Regions from separate parts of the Homo sapiens genome. Here region 1 is linked to region 2. Evidence: promoter capture Hi-C in 16 types of primary human blood cells and fetal thymus (Javierre and others, 2016). All regions are on one chromosome and are shown on one strand. The core of a region is centred on a gene start or on the middle of the fragment in contact, and the rest is flanking DNA. Distances in the headings are between cores, read along the strand shown. Region 1 overlaps CUBN (cubilin). Region 2 holds the start of CUBN (cubilin).

The links. The method cuts DNA at HindIII sites, captures the fragments that hold promoters and counts their contacts. A CHiCAGO score of 5 or more calls a contact.
Region 1: a contact is called between a fragment that was not itself captured here and the fragment with the promoter of CUBN in region 2, in 11 of 17 cell types (activated CD4 T cells, M1 macrophages, total CD8 T cells and 8 more). The highest score is 15.5, in activated CD4 T cells.

What each region holds. Positions count from the first base shown.
Region 1 is chr10:16,869,780-16,874,210 of GRCh38, forward strand. It overlaps CUBN (cubilin), which reads right to left. Exons shown (of 67, transcript NM_001081.4): 59 at 1-74. Among named protein-coding and RNA genes, the nearest start is that of RSU1, 55 kb to the left of the region's middle. The HindIII fragment of the contact is 1,153 bases long and covers 878-2,030 here.
Region 2 is chr10:17,128,455-17,132,497 of GRCh38, forward strand. It overlaps CUBN (cubilin), which reads right to left and starts at 1,357. Exons shown (of 67, transcript NM_001081.4): 1 at 1,190-1,357; 2 at 667-796. The coding sequence starts at 1,311. The HindIII fragment of the contact is 5,551 bases long and covers 1-3,915 here.

The sequences.
Region 1 (4,431 bases), core at 204-2,703, 260 kb before region 2:
TATTGGCACCATCGTAAATTGCCAGGTAGTCATGGGAGCAGGAGGTGGAGGGAACCACATCAAAATCACTGAACCTGTGAAATGTACCTTGTTAATACTGATGTTTCCATTTGGACTTCTATTAAATTGTAGCTTTAGCTCTTGCAAAAAAAATGACAAGGAAAAAACTACCAGTAGAGCATTCAAAACTCACTTGATATGAAATATTAGAAATCAAACAGTACTTTACTGATCAGTTCAAAAGTTTAGCCAAATTTGTTTTTAGTAATTACAATACAACAAAAACTGTGACAGCAGCTGGGGATGTCAAAGTGAGTAAGATACAGTCTTACTTTTCAAGGAATTCACAGTCTAGGGCATATTAAAGTCCATCTGAGAACAACTTTTGACAAGTTGAACTGATATTTACTATCCCAGCAATACTTTAGTTTTTTAGGTCTCATTAAAAATACCATATTTACTCTTCCCTTGTTATTTTATGAGATGAAGTAGAACTTATGGGAAGCATGTTAATATAATAGAAGAAATGCTGCTTTTAGAATCACAGCTCCATTCTCCTCACAGTCTCATTTTCCTCTTTTAAAATGAAGTTTATGTTAAGGTCAGGTGAAGAACAGGAAATTTACATTTAAGACCTCTGTGGTGGTCACTGACACTTCTGCACATGGTCCCAGCTCTCTGCCTCCCCAGCACTGGTAGGATTGCCCTAGGGGCACACTTTGAGGCTTGACATGGCTGCTAGGAGTTGCTTTGACCACAGAAATGTAAGCAGAAGGGATACATATTACTTTACGGAAGAAGCTTTACAAATGACTACTTGCTTTGCCACACTGCCTTCCCACTGCAGTGATGATCATGGAAGCAAATGTAAAAACGAAGCTTCCATCAGCCTGGGTTGTTGGATGACCACGATGAGCAGAGCTTCCATGCCAGGCCACACTGAACATGCTCATTACAATGAGAAATCAACTTGTTGAGTTAAGCTGCTGTGAGGTGGAGTTGTTTGTTACTATGTGCATAACCTATCCTGACAGATGCATCCCTAACTTTTCTCTGTCTTATACAGTGTTTAATTCAGGTCTTATTCTTTGTCATTTCAAATAACGATTTCTAGAGTTCCTGAACAAGCAAGGCTTCTTACATGGATTTACTTTAGAGTTTTGTGGTGGGTTTATTATAGCTTATTTTTAAAACTTGTTTAAAAAAATAATATTTGATATCCTGTCCTCATTTTTATAGGTTCTTCTGCTTTTTCTTTTTTTTTTTGAGACAGAGTCTCACTCTGTTGCACAGGCTGGAGTGCAGTGGCACAATCTCAGCTCACTGCAACCTCTGCCTCCCTGGTTCAAGTGATTCTCTTGCCTCACCCTCCCGAGTAGCTGGGATTACAGGTGTCCACCACCATGCCTGGCTATTTTTTTTAATTACATGTATATTTTTTAGTAGAGATGAGGTTTCTGCCATGTTGGCCAGGCTGGTCTTGAACTTCTGACCTCAGGTGACCTGCCTGCCTCAGCCTCCCTGTGCTGGGATTACAGGCATGGGACACCATGCCCAGCCTGCATTTTCAATTTATTTTGGCAGTAGCTCTAATAAACAATCCATAATATGGAATAATTTTGAAAATATAGACTAAATAATATATATTTATATATAAAATATATAATAAATGCTTCCTTTCAACAGCCTTGAGAAAAAAAATTGTTGGTTTTTTTTCTAAAAGGTTTTGGTTGGTTGAAGGTTTTCAGACTGATGAGGAACAAGATGAAAACCGTATTGATTTTCTTTTACCACATTTAACATTTAATGTTATTGTAAAAGATCAGGGAAGAACAATAGCTAGATAATTTCCAACAACACTGTATTCATTTTAATTCTCTACAGACAACACATTTATTTTTCACAAAAAGAATCCACAAAGAGAGATAAAATCTGAGTTTCTAAGAGGACTTAAATCTGCTTTGGCTTTTTATTTTACATCATTTTCCCAGGAGAGCACAGAAGAGATCTGAAAAGCCCATTGACAGAAAAGCTTGTGTAACCACAATCTTTTGAGAGCCTTTTATTAATGTCTGCATCTTCTACCACACCTAGAATCTTATCTGTTTCCTAGAATGTAGGCTCTTAGTGCGCAATAAATAATTTTCTAAACCTGCAGATGTAGGCTGGGTGTGGTGGCTCACACCTGCAATCCCAGCACTTTGGGAGGCCGAGGCAGGTGGACCACTTGAGGTCAGGGATTCAAGACCAGCCTGGCCAACATGGCAAAACTCCATCTCTACTAAATATATATATATATACAAAAGAAAAAATTACCCAGGCTGGTGGCACACACCTGTAGTCCCAGCTACTCAGGAGGCTAAGGTGGGAGAATCGCTTGAACCCAGCAGGTGGAGGTTGCAGTGAGCTGAGATCACGCCACTGCACTCCAGCCTGGGCGACAGAGTGAGAGCTAGTCTCAAATAAATAAATAAGTAAAATAAAATAAACATGCAGATGTAAATTTCATTATGGTGAGCTCCAGGATCCAGGCTGAAAACTGAAAAAATACATTTAGATTGTATACATACATATATATATAGATAGATAGACAGATAAAGAGAGAGAGAATATATAACATACCTCTATGAGTTGGTATGTATACCATGGTTGGAATGTTTGTGTTCCCCTAAATTCATATGTTCCCTAAGCTAATGGTATAGGAAGTGGGGCCTATGGGAGGTGATTAGGTCATGGGGGAGGACCCCTCACAAATGGGATTAGTGTTTTATAAGAGGCCCTTCCAGCTCATGAAGACACAGCAAGAAGGTACCTTCTATAAGCCAGAAAACAGGAGCTCACCAGACAACGAATCTGCCTCGACCTTGGACTTTTGCAGCCTTTTGTTGTTTATAAGCCACCCAGTTTATGATATTTTGTTAAAGCAACCTGAACAGAACAAGGCAATAATCAATCCTACACATATGAGAAACAAATAGTGAGTCACAGTAGCAAATGGCTCCCCCTTACACTTTCACGCCTGTGCAGGCATACTTCACAGAACTCCTGCTCCTGGCCATCTGACAGTTTCTGTTCTTTTGTCCCCAAGACCTAAAAGACACTCTGTTTTCCTACAAATAGTCCAGGTAAGAGCTGCAGTTTTCTTCGAGGTCCAGCCTATAGAACGCCTGATACAGGAACCAAATCAGGCTTGATGAGAGATGTCTTTCATCAAGACATCTCTTGTTCACTTGGAGAGCCAACTGATACATGAGGCCTCTGGAAGTAAACTGCAGGGAGTACAGAATCTTTAGGGTAGAAAATGATCACAGACAAATAGAGGGGAGGTAGGTAGGTAGGTAGGTAGGTAGGTGTGGTCTTAGCCCATCAGGCTTCTGTATGGAAAGTCCTACATGACCATGAACAATATTACTGTCAGAGTTTCCCACCACATGCCATACGTATATCACTGAAATAGGCTGTCAGGTGAAAACAGTCTTGAACTTTATCATTCTGGAGAGTGGGAGGTTGCATTGCCCTCATCAGTCTTGTTGGGAATAGGTAAGACTGGGAAGAAAATTGACCAGTGACTCAAGCTATCTCTCATAGCATCAGTTTAGAGGTGTTCTGACACAGGTATAAAAATAGATTTCTTAAGTAGTTAGAAAATGTATCCTTTGAGGCTGGGTGCGGTGGCTCATGCCTGTAATCCCAGCACCATGGGAGGCCGAGGCGGGAGGATCACTTGAGGTCAGGAGTTCGAGACCAGCATGACCAACATGGTGAAACCCCGTCGCTACCAGAAATACAAAACTGAGCAGGGCATGGTGGCGCCTGCCTGTAATCCCAGCTACTCAGGAGGCTGAGGTAGGAGAATCTCTTGAACCTGGGAGGCAGAGGTTGCAGTGAGCCGAGATTGTGCCACTACACTCCAGCCTGGGTGACAAAGTGAGACCTTCTCTCAAAAAAAAAAAAAAAAGAAAAGAAAAAAGAAAATGTATACTTTGAGAGACAGTATTGGGAAACATTGAGGATGTGGTGTTTGGAGGAAGCCTGGCATGAATACACATTTTGACTCTTTATGTGTGTGTTACTTTTGGAAAGCAATTTGATCCTTCTGAGCCTCAGTTTCCTCATCAGTGAAATGGGAATAATCTATACAATTCCCAATCTAGAATCTATATATACCTCATATGACTGTTTTAAGAATACAATGAGACAATTACGGCACGTGTGAATCAAAGTTCTTTGTGTATAATAAATACCCAACACATGGCAACTGCTTTCTCTTGCCCTTCCTCTCTCCTTTGATTTCAAGATGGGCTTATTATACCTTGACAATCCATGTTATGATGCTCCTTCACAATTGTTGGGAAACTATAACGACTGTTTTAACTGGTGAGTGCTTGTTTTTTGCCCTTAGTTACTACCGGCTTGTGTGGAGAGGGGGAG
Region 2 (4,043 bases), core at 107-2,606:
GGAAATGAAAACACCCAGTAAGGCAGGAGAATAACTGGCCAATTCTGTTCTGTGGCAAAAGCAAACTGGTCACATGTCCACATATCCTTGGTCCCCTACTTCCTCGCATCCCCTGTGGAGGAGTTTCAGTTCCACCCTCCGTGCCTTCTCTGGACTAGGGTGCATTGTCTGGCACAATGAGCTTCTATCTTTTAGCATACTCCCTCTACCCACTATTAACCCCAGGCCATCGTCCTTTACAAGAACATGTCTGATGCCCAATTATGTTCTCTATGCTAAAGATTCAAGGTACACTAGGAAGGGGGAGGGAGGCTGAAGACAGGTTGATTAATGAATACAATATATAGTTAGATAGAAGAAATAAGACCTAGTGTTTGATAGACCAGTAGGGTGACTATAGTTAACATTAATCTATTGTACATTTCAAAATAACTAGAAGAGAACAATTCATATGTTCTTAGCATGAAGAAAAGGTAAATATTTAAGGTGATGGATATCCCAATTACCCTGATTTGAACTTTACACATTATAGGAATGTATCAAATTATGTATTAATAAAAAATAATAATTAAAAAAGATTCAAGGTACAGATTAATCTAGACTTGTTCAATTAAGTCACCGTATATGGATATACAAAATGACTTCAATATATTTCCAGTGTATTACCTGATGTAAACACTCACTGAGATCTTCATCATTTAATTTAATTTTTCCCAGGGATCCGGTTCTAAACTCAATGTTTTGAGCAGACCCCGTAAGAAACACCAAATTTCCTCTCTCTGTAGCCATTCGAGGCCTATATAATTCAAACGAGAGAATGCATCAGTAATTAGCAAGTACAATTTTTAAACCAAAATAACAAAGTTTCTTACTGAATAACTACAGGCCAAATACATCTTCACTTTTTGATCATCTCAACCCAACTGCCCCTGCTCATCTGCCACTTTTTTCTCTGCACATTTCTCAGAGATACCTCCTGGCAATTGCAAACAGATTATTTGCAAAATGACAGATAATAATTTGTGCATAGGAAAGTAATTTCATACCTCAGTCTAAATGTTTTTCCCTGTTTGCTTCTCAACATAATTTTCCTCAAGAAAAATTGCACCTTTGTTTATCTGGCTATTTGGGAAAACTGGTGAGGAATTAGCCTAGTCCCTGAGCAGGAATGACCCATGTGTTTACTTACTGTTGGAGATTGATGCTTCTTTTTTGTCTCTGCAGCTCAAGTTCTCCAGCTTCGCCATTTACTTCAGCAAATATTAATAAGGTAAGCAAACTCCAAAGAAAAGGTAAAGACATGTTCATCATCAACCTCCCAGGTTGGCAGGTAAGAGTGAGGCCACTCCAACCAACTGAGCATGGGATTTTGGAGAACAGCAAACCAGGCAGGTGTACTTTGAACCATGGAATATCCTGTAACTGTTGAGTTTTTTCTTCTTTGCCCTAGAAGGCTATGTTATTTTTTCTTCCAGAGGGATGTAAATGATCTTAGATCTTCAGTACTCTTCAACTTGTGAGAGGTCAAAATCTACCTTAAGTGATGCGCAACTTAATCATTATCTATTTGACCTTTGAAACAGTAACAAGCAGCTTTGAAAACATCCACTTAAACAATCTTTGCTTAAGAAGTAACTAGGTTTCAACAAAAGTAAACTGGTCATTATCTACACCTTTCTCTGTTCCCCTCCTTCCTCACCTCCCTTGCAGAGGAGTTCCACCTTTACCCAGCGCTAGGAAAACTAGATATCCACATGCAAAAGAAGTTGGAGGCTTACCTCATACCATATGCAAAAATTAACTCAAAAAAGTTCAAAGATCTAAATCTAAGAGCTAAAACTATAAAATTAACTCACAATGGTTCAAAAAATCTGAAACTATAACATAAAACTCAGAAGAATAGGACAAAAATTCATGACCTTGGATTTTGGATTTGGCAATGATTTCTTGAGTATGATACCAAAAGCATGGGCAAAAAAAGAAAAACACACAGACAACCAAAAGATATAAATTGGAATACATCAAAATTAAAAACGTTTGTGCATCAAAAAATACATCAACAGAGTGAAAAAGCAACTCCCAGAATGGAAGAAAATATTTGCAAATCATATATATATGAAAATGGGTTAATATCCAGAATGTACAAAGAATTTGTACTTTTTACTTTTTATCATCCCTGTGGGACCTATGGACGGCTGTGGAATCCATTCCCACTTTCCACACTGCGCTATACACCCTTCCAGCTGGATATATGGTTTGAGGACATGGAGCACTGATGTCCCCACTCACTCTGTGCTGGGACTACAGAAACCACTGAGAGTGATGAAAATATTCTACATTTCGATTGTAAAATCAACTATTGATGCACTCAGACTTTCCATGAGCACACAGACAAAACTGAATTTGAGGGAGAGCTGTAAAAATTTCACTTCTAAGAAAAATCTCTAGGTAATTACCATTGCATTGGTTAATACCCATGCAGGCTCTTTCAGGACAAGCCTGTTTGTGTTTTACTTATTTTGTGTCTTACTTATGTAGGCTCTTTGAGGAGAGGATCATTATGTACCATAGCTTATAATTCTTTACTTATGCCGGGCGCGGTGGCTCACGCCTGTAATCCCAGCACTTTGGGAGGCCGAGGCGGGCGGATCACGAGGTCAGGAGATCGAGAACATCCTGGCTAACGTGGTGAAACCCCGTCTCTACTACAAATACAAAAAATTAGCCGGGCTTAGTGGCGGGCGCCTGTAGTCCCAGCTACTCGGGAGGCTGAGGCAGGAGAATGGCGTGAACCCGGGAGGCGGAGCTTGCAGTGAGCTGAGATCATGCCACTGCACTCCAGCCTGGGGGACAGAGCGAGATGCCGTCTCAAAAACAAAACAAAACAAAAAAAAACTTTACTTGTGATACTCAAATAGTCACTGCTTTTAAAAATTTTTTTTAAACCTTCCCAATTTCTTCTATATGTCTCTTGTATCTGCTTCTTTCACTCAACATAATGCTTTTGTAATTCATCTGTGCTGTAGTGTATATCATTAATTGGTTCCCTTTTATTATTGAGTAGTATTTCATCATATGGCTATCCCACAGTTTGCTTCTCTACTCATCAGTTGATAAACACTTGAGTTATTTCCAGTTTGGGACTATTATAAATAAAGCTGTTATGAACATTTGTGAACAGGTCTTTGTGTCAACATAGGTATCTCATTACAATTTTAATTTATATTTCCCTAATGACCAAAGATGTTGGGCATCTTTTTATGTATATTTGCCATTTGTTTATCTTCTTCGGTGAACTGTCTGTTTAGATATTTTGCCTATTTTTTAAAATTTTGTTGTTTGTCTTTTATTGATTGTAAGAGCTCATATATTCTAGATACAAGAATTTTCAAATACGTATTTTGCAAATATTTTTCTGCCAACCTGTGGCAAGTCATTTTGCTTGCTTAAAAATATTTTTCAAGGACAACAATAAGACACAAAAGACTACTTCCTAAGTGATTCTATATCACATGATTCCATATGAAAATCTAAAAAAGCCAAAACTACACTGATTGATAGACAACAAATCAGAGGCCAGGGGTTGGGGAGGAGATTGATCGCAAGGAGGCATGAGGGAATATTTAAGGGTGATGAAAATGTTCTGTATCATGATTGTGATTGTGGTTGCATGACTGTATAAATTTGTCAAAACTCATAAAGCTGTATAGTTAAAATAGATAATCTTTGGCAGATGTAAATTACAGCACAATAAAACTGATTAAAATTATTTCTCTTCTATATTTGTAAATGTCTTCATATATCAGGATGATACAAAATATTAATTTGGTATTAAACTAAATGCTAAGAAAAGATATCCAATAGCCTTTACATCAATAGAGATGAAATTTATCATAATAAATTTGTTTATTTGAAAGCTTAACAACTTGGCATGGGGTGGAGGGAAAGTTTGACAATATGAAATTTTTGGCAAGTTTAGAATAGGATAAAATAGTCTGGGCTAGAATCTTCCAATCAAAAGGATAATTCAAACTCTCTGAGCT